Linked DNA regions of Homo sapiens: regions 1 and 2 are each linked to region 3. The links are contacts of gene promoters, found by promoter capture Hi-C in blood cells and fetal thymus (Javierre and others, 2016). All regions are on one chromosome and are shown on one strand. Each heading gives the region's core, a stretch centred on a gene start or on the middle of the fragment in contact. The rest is flanking DNA. Distances are from core to core; before and after follow the strand shown.

Region 1 (4,129 bases), core at 894-3,393, 340 kb after region 3:
TATTCCATTAGTGAGAACAGACATATGGCTACACACCACTGCAAAGGAAGCAGGGAAATGTATTCTCTAGCTGGGTAGCCATTTGCCAAGAAAGAGTAGCACCACTCTGACCCAAAAGATCTTAAGCCATAAAGTGATGAGATCAGATATTCAAGTCTTTATAGCTGAAAAAAAAAAAAAAGGATCTTGGAAGTCACTTAATCCAAACTCTTCATCTTACACATGTGAAAACCAAATGAGGTCCATGACTTTAGATACTATTGCTGCATAACAAACCATCCCAAGTTTAGTGGTGTGAAACGTCACGTTATGTTCATGGATTCCATGCTCAAGAATGCAGAAAGGCCACAGTAGGGTCAGCTGGCTCTGCTCCATGAAGCATGAGGCCTCAGCTGAGAAGATTCAGAGTGTGACTCAGTGGCTGGAGGCTGGACTTATCTGAAGGCTCATTCTTTTGCATGCCTGACACCTACTTTGGGAGGACCCAAAGACTAGGACTGTCAGCTAAAATGCCTTACATGTGGTCTCTCCATGTGGTGTTTCTTCCTCATAGCACAGCTGCTTCAGGGTAGTGGATTTTTCTCATGGCGCCATGGAGTTGCAAGAATGACTATTCTAATTAACAAAGTGGAAACTATACTGCCTTTCATCATCTATTCTTGGAAGTCATTCAACATCATTTCCACCACATTATTTTTTGGTTATGAGTGAGTCAAAAACTTGTCCAGATGCCACCTCTTGAGTATGGATGAGTATCAAGGTTTCATTTTAAAGAAGCTTGTGGGATGGAAGAAATTGTTGCAGTCACCTTTGGAAAATGCAATCTACCACAGTGGCCACATCCACTGGCTACAATACCCATCTCATATACAAAATGAATAACCTTTCTTCGAAGACACCCAAAGTTTTGTCCTGTTACTACATCAGTTATAAGTCCAGAATCTCAACTACATCTTGTCCAAGTGTAGTTGAGGCTCCTTAGGTACAGTTTTTTGGGTCAATCTTCCTCTTGTTCTGTAGATCTATGAACTAAAGAGATTAGTTCTCTGTCCCTTATGCCAGCAGCATGCCACAGTAGAACAGGCATTGGATAACTGCTGTAGACATTCCTGTTCAAAAGCAGGGAAAATGAAAGGCATTGGTGGTCACTTGTCCATAGCAATTCTGAAATGTGGGGACAGCTTAGGACTCAGTCATACTCTTTGGGAGTTTTTCTTCATGGCTCTTGGTTCAGCCCTCTGAGTTATCCTTCATTTTCCATAAGAAATACTTCAGTATGCAATTGAATAGCCTTTTTAGCCTGGTTCTTGCCTTTAAAAGACTGGGGGTGGGGTAGGGTCAAAAGAATTCTTTTCATCTCGTACTGTCTCTGTTCCTGTCCATCAAAGCTAACATGCTTCCTTTTAAAAAAACTTTGCGGTGTTTTGTTTCGTTTTATTTTGTTTTACTTTGTATCAATGCATAATCAACTTTATAGACAAAAATCACACTTACAAATCTCTTTGAGTCAGGTCCTTCTCTATCTTGGGTCTTTGTGTCACTGTTGTGGGACAGTGCCCTCAAGATTCTTTGAAGTCTTATTGTTTAACAAAGAAGGTCTACAAGACAAACACTATAGATTCTTAAAGAAGGACTTTTATGTTCCTGGAAGCTTCTCTGAAGTAGCATGTAAGATATTTCTGAGGCTTAAACAAGGGATCTTACAGTCCCATTCTGAATTCATATTTTCCCAGAGCCTATTTATTAATTTGGGACACTTTCCTGGCTAAGATGACTATTCTGAGACCTTATCTATCCTTCCAATTAGGCTTGAAGGCTTAAGAATTCATTCTTGGCCGGGCATGGTGGCTCACACCTGTAATCCCAGCACTCTGGGAGGCTGAGACGGGCAGATCACCTAAGGTCAGGAGTTCAAGACCAGCCTGGCCATGGTGAAACCCTGTCTCTACTAAAAAAAATACAAAAAATTAGCCAGGCATTATGGTGTGCGCCTGTAATCCCAGCTACTCGGGAGGCTGTGGCAGGAGAATCGCTTGAACCCGGGAGGTGGAGATTACAGTGACCCAAGATGGTGCCTTTGCACTCCAGCCTGGGCAACAGGAATGAAACTCCATCTCGAAAAAAAAGAAAAAAAGGAATTCATTCTTGAGTTTGTCTCATTCCTCCCATTTTGTTATAGGGAACAGAAAGAAGTTAGTCAGCACCCTCAATGCTTTGCCTGAAATCAAGTTTAATAAATATGCTTTCCATTTTATGCATTATCACAGGAAACAGTTTTGCTAAACTTTCTTCCACTGCATAACAAGGACCTCCCTTTCCTGGGTTTCCAGATAACATATTCCTCAGTTTCCTTTAAAGTCTCATCAACATTCCCCTTGAGGCCCTTCCAGCTTGTCCTACCTTCCCTCAGGGGCTTCCAGAACCCACTGCGGAGTGTCCCAGTGCTAATACTACATGTTTCTGTTTTCTGTTACAAATGCCTCCCACTTCCAGCTTCCAAATTTCTGTTTCAATGTTTCTGTTTCTATTGCTGCTGATTCTGTTCCTATTGCTTCCAAACTTGGTAACACAGAATAACCATTTTATTATTCTCACAGATTATGTCGGTCAGGAATTCAGAAATGGCGTAACAGGGAAAGCTTGTCTCTGCCCTGTTTAGGGTCTCAGCTGGAAACGCTTGAAGGTTGGGAGTGATTCCCTGCTTGGGACTGTGGATCGTCTGAAGGTTTCTTCAATCGCATGTCTGGCACCTGGGCTGGGAGAACTTGAAGACGAGGACTGTTAACTGGAGCACCTACACGGGGCCACTCCATGCCACTTAGCTTCCTCGCAGCATGGCAGCCTCAGGACAGTCACACTCCTTACAGGCAGCACGGCTCCTAGTGTGAATGTTGCAGTGGACTAAGCAGAAGTGGCATTGCCCTTAAGACCCCCAGCCTCCGAAGTCAGGCATGGTCACTTCTGCTACATCCCATAGGTTACAAGGAAGTCCCAAGCTTGTCTGGATTTGAGGGAAGAGAACACAGACTTCTCTTGATGAGAGAATATCAAGGTCATATTGTAAAGGAGTACATGAGATGTGAGGTTCTTGCAGCCATCTTTCGAAAATATAATTTCCCACATCCAGGAAGGTCATTACTGACGAAGCAGAACTGAAACTCAGTTGTGTTTATGGCCAGACCCCTGTTCTTTCACTATACCATGCTGATGAGTCAATAGCATCATTTGCATGAATGAAAGATCTTACGTTATTAAAAAGAAAAGTTGAAACGTAAGGCAAGATGCCAAATTCAGTCTCAATTGAACATTCTCTGTATTACAAATGCAGCATAAATATATGTTTTCCATAGCTCTTGCAGAGCAAACAGCTGCGTTTATTTGCATCCAAAAACATGGAAAAATTCCAAACTATAAGCAAAGAACTCAAGAACACGACTCAAACTTCTGTAAATGTAAATCTTCATAAAAATAGTTGTAACGTTGATTAAAGCAGGTGCTGAAACCTTCTCCTAGCCTGAAGTATTCCACTTACAAACAACCCCCTTCCCGTATAATGATGTAGTTTTCTAGGAACTACTCGTATATTTGGCTAAGCAGTCAAATGCCTATTAAACTTCCTTATATTAACTTGATCTACCACCTCCTCCTCCATCTCCAACATACACCAACTCTGGTTCTCTCTACACTCATGCACACACACACACATACATTCTTTCCTGTATCACCCTGGAGTCCTTTAAGAGTTCCTTAGATCTTTACAGGGGATATATATATGCTTGGCTTGAAAAAAAACTCAGCGTACCTATACCTGTGCACATCCATGAAATCTAAGTGAATTTCTTCCTTTTGCCCCATGAATAGAGTCTAGAAGAAGGATAGAACCAAAAAAACCTCTATAAAATGGCTCACCCCTTTTCCTCCCTCTATCACATTCTATGTCTGGTCTGGGAATCTGAAAATGTCAGGCAATACATTGTTCGCTGTGATTGAGCATTAGCAAGAGAGTTCTTTGAAAGGATTCTATTACATCTTTATGTCTTTGCATATAAACTTGGACTTCCCTAAAAACTCAGTTCAAATTTGATTTGCAGTGAAAATTCTTGAAATTGTGGTAAGGATTTTAAGAGAT
Region 2 (4,594 bases), core at 1,598-4,097, 390 kb after region 3:
GTTCTCCCCATGTTGCCCAGACTCCCACATACCTGGGAGGCACTACTCTCTTGGGTTTTGTGAGTGCAATGAGCCCCCTGGTGGTCCTACCCCTTGGCAATGACTATCCCTGGAGTGGGTGTCAAAACTGTAGAAGCACAAGTTACTGCTCTTGCAGAGCACACCACCAGGGCTCTGAATTACACCCGAGTGGCCCTCATCCTGTTATGGATGAGGTTGATCAGATGAGAAAGGTGGTGTTGCAAAACTGAATGGCCTTTGACATAATAACTGCTGCCCAAGGAGGCACCTGTGCCCTTTTAGGAACACAATGTTGTACCTTTATCCCTGACAATTGGCAGAATATAACAGCAGCCCTGCAAAGGGTCTCATGGGAGATTAAGGTGGTCAAGACCCTTACTGACGACCCCCTACAGAGTTGGTGGGCATCTCTAGGCTCTGGCCTATGCTGGGTCCTAATAGTCATAAGTAGCATAGCTGGGATCCTAGTAGTGAGTTGTTGCTCTCTGTGTTGTTGTTGTGGGTTATGAATTCAGGGCTCTGCCCTATGGGCTTGTGTCCTTGCCCGGGGGACGCCCTCGGCCTGGGAGGTGGAGTATGAGGGAGATGACTGCACTTTAGTCAGGAGTAAGCCAAGGCAGGCTTCCAGTGCAGCATGATTCAGCAGGTTAGGAGTGCAGGTGCACAACCCTGCACATTATGCAACCTTGCCACATGAGGCACGTTAGGTGGTCACCCACATGAGCTTGTGCTTGGCTTGGAGCCACTATTGTCTGCAAAAGGTATAATTACCCTGCTAATGCTGTACGTTCGGCTCGCTCCTGCCCAGGGAGAGAGTACAGCCATGTAGAAGCTGTCTATGATTCCTCGAATGTTTTCCCAGCTATCTGCCACTCACCCACCAACTCCCTTCCTCTTGGCAAGGACATTCTAAAGTTAACCTGAAAAACAAACTAGTTCAGCCCATGATGGGAAGAGGGGGCCAGATATGCCTCATTATACCATCCTCTCTTTTAGAACTACTGATAGAACAGACTCTTTAAGTCTGATAAGAAACATTTACAATCTATTATCTTTGAAACATACTACCTAGAGGCTTCATCTGCATAATAAAACCTTGGTCTCCACAACCCCTTATCATAATCCAGACATTTCTTTCTATTGAAAATAAGTCAACCAGTTGCTGATCAAAAAATCTTTAAATCTTCATGACTTGGAAGCTCTCACTTCCAGTTGTCCCACCTTTCCAGAACCAACCAAGGTACATCTTACACATATCAATCGGTCCCTTATGTCTCCCTAAAATATATAAAACCAAGTTGTGGCCCAACCACCTTGGGCACATTCTCAGAATCTATGGAGGACTGGTCACTCATTTTCACTCAGAATAAATCTCTTCAAACATTCCACAGAGTTTGACTATTTTCACAGACAGAGGGAAGGATGACAAAGGGACACAGGAAAACCCTGGCTATCATGAACTTGTTTGCTGTGTTGATTGTGGTTGAGGACTAAATTCTGACCTTTTTCTTTTCTTTTCTTTTCTTTTCTTTTCTTTTCTTTTTTGAGACAAGGCTCTCTGTCACCCAGGCTGGAGTGCAGTGGTGCCATCTCAGCTCACTGCAGCCTCAACCTCCCTTGCTCAAGCCATCCTCCCACCTCAGCCTCCCAAGTAGCTGGGACTACAGGCACGCACTACCACGCCCAGATAATTTTTGCATTTTTTGTAGAGATGGGGTTTTTCCGTGTTGCCCAGTCTAGTCTCAAACCCCTGAGCTAAAGCAAGCCGCTCCCCTCGGCCTCCCAAATGCTAGAATTACAGACACGAGCCACCACGCCCAGCCTTTTTTCCTCTCTTGCCCAAATTCCTAAGAGGCCTGGGGAGTCACACACTACAAACTGTAAAATCTCATCAGAGACATTTTATTTAAACCTGTCTAACTGACTGACTTTCCAATCTGACCCTGGCATAACATCACATGACAGATAAAGAAGGAAATCAAAACATTTTACCCCAAAGTATGTTTATTTGTCACACTTTGAAATAGCCTGCAACTTTGTTTTTGTGGTGGAATTGCATCTGTAACGAATCTCTGTTAACTAGATATTTCCCCTTCCAGACCCTCCCAATCCTGAAGGGACTAACTGAGGGTCTAGCACTTTTTAAGGGTTTGAGCAGGAAACATTCACCATCTTTTGCCTGTAAGGGTGGGCACCCATGAAGCTTCATCTATGTAACAAGAACCTTGGTTTCCACAACCCCTCATCTTGACCTAGACACTCTTCTATTGATTCCAGGTCTTTAGATAATAACTTAATTCTTTTAATCAATTGCCAATCAGAAGATCTTGGAATCCCCCTATGACCTGTAACCCTCCCCTTCAAGTTGTCCCACCTTTTCAGACCAAACCAATATATACCTCACATGTATTGACTGAAGTCTTATGTCTCCCTAACACATATAAAAACCAAGCTGTAACCCAACCACCTTGGGCACATATTCTCAGCACCTCTTGGGACTGTGCCTCAGGCCTTAGTCACTCATATTTGGCTCAGAATAAACCTGTTTAAAAATTTTATGGAGTCTGACTCTTTGTGTCGACATGGTGGTGGTCCCATGGGTGTACACATATGTCAAAACTTATCCAATTGTACACTTTAAGTATATGGAGTTTACTGTATATCAACTGTACCTCAATAAAGTGCATTTAAAAAAAGTCTGGAGAAAAAGAAGTCCCCTTTTGTTTGCACTTGGAGCTGTGATTAAGCATGCCTGAGGCTACTGGCAGCTATCTTGACATTGTGAGGAGAAAACATGCTTGAGAGTGAGGCCAACCCAGAGGATAAAAAGAACTGAAAAAGGCCAGAGTTAGACCAGATTCCAGCCATCCATCGGTACTGGATCCAGCTGTGCCTACAGCAGTCTCTGGAATTTTTGCTCATTGAGACAATACGTGTGTGTGAGTGTATGATTAACCCGGTCTGAACTGAGTTTTGTTGGTTACAACTGAGGAGTTCTGTGCAACGTTATCCACAGTCCACCAGGCAGGCTGAGAGCTGCTTCTTAACCAGCAAGTGCCTCATGGAGGGATTGGGTTTGGGGTTATGGAAGTGAACAGAGCTGCCTGCCTTAAGGCAAGTAGGCCTTGCTCTGTTCCCCTTGCAGTCCCCGAGCCCGGGAAGCCCGAGAGGGAGCCCTTCAGTGCTTGTGCACTCGGCTGTTTCGCAAGAGTCACGGTCAGTTGCGCCTCTGCTTCGGAAGAGTATTTTTAGTGGCAAATAAAGTGGTGCGCAAATAAACAAACGCCTGGAACAAATCCTGCAAAGGAGAGCGCCTGTGTGCGGCCCACTGTCTAACTAGGTCAGCCTCGGGCACAGCTCCTTTTGACAGTTTGCTCCCCAGGGCGGAAGGTGACCCGCAGGTGCCGGCTGCTTTCCCCACCAATCAGCCATCTGTGGTTTGAGACTCACAAGCTTAGGAGAGACTCGGGAGGCATCAGTTCCGCATCCCGCACTCCCACGTGAATTTGCCCCCGCCCTGAGTCAGAACCCTAGAGGGGTGAAATCCCTGAATTCTGCAGAGGAAACCCATACTTCTTTGCTTTTTCAGCAATTCCAGGAGATGTCGTTTTTCAAGTGGCAAATGTGTGGCTCTAGAGGACAGAGTAACCACCTTGCAGCCAAGAAGCCCTGATGTCAACTCCCAGCTCTGCTGCAGCACCCAGAAATCACCGGACCTTTCTGCATCTTTCTGGGTGACTCTGTCATGAGGATTTCATAATGTAATTCCCTAGCACATAAGAATTTCTCAACCAATATGGCTTTCTTTTTTCCTTCTCACTAGTCTTTGAGCTTCTTAAAGGGAAGACATGTCCTATTCATCTCTACACCCCCCACACCAGTCTGCATTCAGTAAGTGCTCAATCAATGTCTGCTGAATCACATCTTCCCACTCAACTGCATGGCCTCGGATGATCCAATTCTGTGGGACTCAGGGTCTCCCTGATTCTGAAGATCTCCATTTCAGCCACCCCATCCTGGTGCTTTTTCTGGAGAGACTGGGAAAAAGGTGAGCAGAAGAGAATAGAACCAGGAGAGGGAGTGAAAGAGGGGTTGAAAGGGGGTTGGGGGAAGGAAGGGGAGGGAAGGGAAATGCTATAGTTTGAATGTGTCCCCTCCAAAATTCAGATGATGCCAATGTGATAGTAGGAAGAGGTGGTGCCTGTAAGAGGTGATGAGGCTGTGAGGTTTCCTTCTTTGTTAATGGGATTAAAGGTCTTATAAAATAGGCTTTGCGCAGCATTGCACTAGCTTGCTCTCTTGCCTTATGCCATGTGAGGTTGCAGCAAGACGCCCCTCATGAGATGCCAGCACCTTGATCTTGGACTTTCCAGCCTCCATAGCTATGAGAAATAAATTTCTGTTCTTTATTAATTACCCAATCTCAGGTATTCTATGATAACTATTCTGTTATAGCAGCACAAAACAGACTAAAACAGGAAGGGAAGGGAGGAAGACAAAACAGAAGATAGGAGAGAAAGGGAAAAGAAGGGAGGCAAGACAAAAGGAGAAGGGGGAAGGAGAGGGAGGGGAG
Region 3 (4,380 bases), core at 380-2,879:
AAATAACTCACAAAATTAAAATGTGACATGCTTTTGCTTTCTATTGAATAATTCAACATATGGCAAAGCCTCAAAAAGTACACCCTATCCTGGCTTATACTCTACAATGACACTAAACATATCCCTGGAAATCAATTTCAATGAAGAACTTTAGCTGAAAAATTCAAAACAGCTATACAGGTGACTTGACACAGTGATTCTGTATCACAAGTACACAATAAAATGATACAATTATGCAAAGTATTTGGCTACTCGGGCTTTTGTGGGTTTTGCCTGAATTATCCAAACAGGTCTTTGTACTTCATCAATGAAAACACACAAGGGACAAGAAATGATTTTCACGAAATTGCTTAAATTAACTGCTAAATTCCTCTGTACCTTTAAGGAAAGGAATCTGGAACACCAAGAGTTTGTGTAAGTATTTCAACTCTCAACCTCCACATGGGCGGTGTTTCGCCATAAATACTAAAAACACGTTTTGAACATGATCCCTGTATTTCAAAAGCTACTTATGAAGAAAAGTGGGACATGCATAGAAAATAAATGATGAAAAAAAAAAACAATGCCTTCTAATCCCTCCCCATGGGACGATGTTCAGTAACCAGTTTTAACCAAAGCAGGAAATACAGGAGATGGCGGGAGCGTAGGCAGAGAGCGGAAGTTTGCTAGTATCTACTTTGAAGTGTTTGAATGGACCAAGGCACGCTCTCTCCCGCCAAACTATAAACTCAGTCGCCCCAAAACACCAGCCTTCCAGCCCATCAGGTATATTACTCCACGTTTTCCTTTCTCCCGGCAGGTCCTCTACTCCCACCTCCCCCGAGAACTCCCTATTTGCTGGCTTCTCTCAACTCCCGCCACCCCCATCCCAGCCTACATTATGATCCACGCGCTGCTCTCACTTTCCGCCCTCCGCCTTTCCCGTCTGGAGTGCCTGGCCGCGCCCCCACCCAGGCCCTCCCCACGGCCCCTCTGGCTGGGAAGTGCCTGCTGCCCTTGGAAGCGAATACTCCCACCGCGCCCTCCCCCACCCTCTCCTCCGGCTCCAGGCCTTCCTCGGGAACCGAGGCCACGAGGTCCGCGGTTCACTCCCGCCCGACGCCCTCGCAAATGACTCCCGCTCGGTTCGGCCTGGGGGAGGAGGCGCCCTCATGGCTACTGCAGGCCTCTCCACCCTCCGGACTGGGCTGGGCAGCGGCCCCGTCGCACGCAACCCCCCGCGCCCTTGCCGGGCCGAACGGGCGCCGCGCTTCTCCTACCCGCCGCTAGTGAACCCAGCCCAGAGAGAAACAAAGGCTCGGGCTCCAGGACCCGCTCGGCCAGGCCAGCCCCGGCCCGCTCCCTGCCAGGACCCCAACAAAGCCCGAGCTGCCGCCTCGCGCCCCCGGCCTGGCTTACCCATCGGTCCCCGCACGCTTCTTGCCAGAGGGGTAATCCTCCCCTAGGTCCAACCGGTGCCGCTTGGACATCCTCGCACTCTTCGAACGGGCAGTTATTAAGGAAGAAAGCTGGCTGCTGTATGGGCACAGTCGAGGACAGCCACTTAACTCTGGAGGACCCCCACCCCTCCCGCTACTACAGCCCACACGGTGCGGCCGGAACCAACAGCTAAAATGGCGGCGGCGACGAGGGCTGGGCCTGCGCGCGCGCGCGCTTCCGCAGCGTGCGTGCGTGCGAGTGTGCGTGTGAGCGAGGTGCGCGCGCACGACGCCCAAAGGCGGGAACTCCTGTCCCGCCCGCTGCCTCATTGGTCCGACCTTTCTTGGGTCTCCTCCCTCTTCCTGTAGCTTTCCCCTCCTCGGAGCGGCTGTTAGGAAGAACCTGAAGGCCTTCACTTTCCATTTCAGGCTATCCTTGCCCCTCTGAGTCAAGAAATTGAGAAAGTCTAGTCCTAGTTAGGAAATCCTATTCATTTCTATTACCCCGGCTTTAAGGGAATCTCAGACCCAGAGAGGTTGAGAAACGAATGAAGATCGTACAGCTAATAAGTGGCAGAGCCGGGATTGGAACCCAGCTATTTAGTAACTCCAGATCTGGAACTTGCGGCCACTGCGCTACCCTCAGTTGCAGTGAGGGGCCGCGCGATGGTTCACGCCTGTAATCCCAACGCTTTGGGAGACCGAGGCGGGTGGATCACGAGGTCAGGAGTTCGAGACCAGCCTGGCCAACACGGTGAAACCCCGTCTCTACTAAAAATACAAAAATTAGCTGGGCGTGGTGGCGTACGCCTGTAATCCCAGCTACTCGGTAGGCTGAGGCAGGAGAATCGCTTGAACCTGGGAGGCGGAGGTTGCGGTGAGACGAGATCACACCAGTGCACTCCAGCCTGGACGACAGAACAAGACTCCGACTTGAAAGAAAAAAAAAAATCAATTGCAGTGAGGAAACTGAAGTGAGAAAATGTTAAGGCTTGTCATGATCTATTTTGCCCTTTTCTTGCCCAGCACGGACACCATGCACCCAAGCTATAGATGTTTTTAACTAGAATACAGAGAATTCGCAGTGAGGGCACAATTTGCTTTTTTGTTTTTTGTTTTTCTGTGCCTATTAATGCACTTTCGCAGTGTTAAATAACACCCTGCAAGGTAGTTGTTATTTTGTAGACGTAGACGCAAAGGCTGAGGAAGGTTACATCTCCTAGCCATAAGGGCTGTACCTAAAGCCATAACAAGGAGGTGGGGCAAGATGACTCTAAGGATTTTTGTGGATCTCTCCCCCTAGAATATGTCTGCTTCCTCAGTTGCATTTGTTCCCAGAAGAAATGCACAAGAAAAGATCTGTGGACCATCTGCAGCAGGGTGATCTCTGTTGTTCATGGAATGGCTTGGTTTGGCTGCCCTGGAAGACCATACTCTGGTTCTTATCCAAATCTCAGGACTGCAATTGCTAGGATTAAATGCAACTTAAATATTGCAACTGATGAGGGGTTTGTGTGTTTGTTTTGAGACAGTCTTGCTCTGTCGCCCAGGCTGGAGGACAGTGGTGCAATCTCAGCTCACTGCAACCTCCGCCTCCCGGGTTTAAGCCATTCTCCTGCCTCAGCCTCCCTCCTAGCTGGGATTATAAGCGCCCGCCACCACGCCCGGCTACGCGCCCGGCTAATTTTGGTATTTTTAGTAGAGACGTAGAGACGAGGTGTCGCCATGCTGGCCAGGCTGGTCTTGAACTCCGGACCTCAAGTGATCTGCCCACCTCGGCCTCCCAAAGTGCTGGGATTACAGGCGTGAGCCACTGCACCCAGCCAGCAATTGGTAAGGAGGGTTTTTATTTTTTTGTACCAAATCCACATTGGAAAGTCAACACAAAGAAAAATGAGTATATTTTTCACTTGTGAAATATTCAGTACAACTTTCTATCCTAAATGTACCATAGTCCCTACTTTGTCCCTGGTTTTGCTTTCACAGTACAGTAAGATATTCTGAGAGAAAGACCACATTCACATAGCTTCTATTACAGTATAGATTCTCCTTGACTTATGATGGGGTGATGGCCATCGCAAAGCCATCGTAAACTGAAAATGTTGTAAGTTGAACATGCAGTTAATATACCGATAAACCCATCGTGAAGTCAAAAAATCTGGTCAAACAATTGTAAGTCAAGACTGTCTGTATGTTGTTATAAATGTTTTATTATTAGTTGTTAATATCTTACTGTGCCTAATTTATAAGTTACACTTTATCATAATTACATATGTATAGGAAAAAACTGAAATTAAAATGATGAGTTGGCCTTCTATTATCTGTGGGTTCCTTATCCCTGGATTCAATCAACTGCAAATCAAAAATATATTTTTCTTTAAAAATGGATGGTTGCATCTGTATTGAACATGTACAGACTTTTTCTTGCTCTTATTTCTTAAACAATACAGTATAACAGCTATTTCCATAGCAATTACATTGTATTAGGTATTATAAGTGATCTAGTGATGATTAAGTATACAGAAGAATGTGCATAGGTTATATGCAAATACTGTACTATTTTATATCAGACACTTGAACCTCCACGGACTTTAGTGTCGGCAGTTTCTCCTGGAACCAATCCCTAGTGGATACTGAGGGACAATTGTGTTGACTTTTTTCAGATCATGATGTATAATCACTGGATTCCATCTGATTTTTCTCTTTTTGCTTAATTTTACAAATGAGGGAAACTGAACCCCTAGGTCTTATTGAAGTTCACACAATCAGTTGGTATCAAAGTCAGAATAAAATACAGATTTCACTTGAAGTATTAAAATCTCAGTCTTCAGGTTTCCAGTTTGATGACTGCTATAAAGTGCTCTAAAATTTTGGAGAAATAATCAGGGAAAAAAGTTAGAATTCTACCTGCAGAAGTGCTCCACTCAGATGTCAGCCTCTCATAAATGATGAAAGAGGAACT

Evidence for each region. Contacts are between HindIII fragments. The CHiCAGO score rates a contact against its expected background, and 5 or more counts as called.
Region 1: a contact is called between a fragment that was not itself captured here and the fragment with the promoter of DHX15 in region 3, in 3 of 17 cell types (monocytes, M1 macrophages and M2 macrophages). The highest score is 5.7, in monocytes.
Region 2: a fragment that was not itself captured here is called in contact with the fragment with the promoter of DHX15 in region 3 in 4 of 17 cell types (monocytes, M2 macrophages, M0 macrophages and 1 more); the score reaches 10.2 in monocytes.

The regions. Positions count from the first base shown.
Region 1 is chr4:24,924,080-24,928,208 of GRCh38, forward strand. It overlaps a transcript of CCDC149 not described here. Among named protein-coding and RNA genes, the nearest start is that of CCDC149, 13 kb to the left of the region's middle. The HindIII fragment of the contact is 988 bases long and covers 1,650-2,637 here.
Region 2 is chr4:24,970,763-24,975,356 of GRCh38, forward strand. It overlaps a transcript of CCDC149 not described here and a transcript of LOC102723675 not described here. Among named protein-coding and RNA genes, the nearest start is that of LGI2, 58 kb to the right of the region's middle. The HindIII fragment of the contact is 1,250 bases long and covers 2,223-3,472 here.
Region 3 is chr4:24,582,925-24,587,304 of GRCh38, forward strand. DHX15 (DEAH-box helicase 15) reads right to left here and starts at 1,630. Exons shown (of 14, transcript NM_001358.3): 1 at 1,399-1,630. The coding sequence starts at 1,469. RefSeq lists silencers at 889-938, 1,139-1,218, 1,229-1,348 and an enhancer at 1,529-2,068. The HindIII fragment of the contact is 7,218 bases long and covers 1-4,380 here.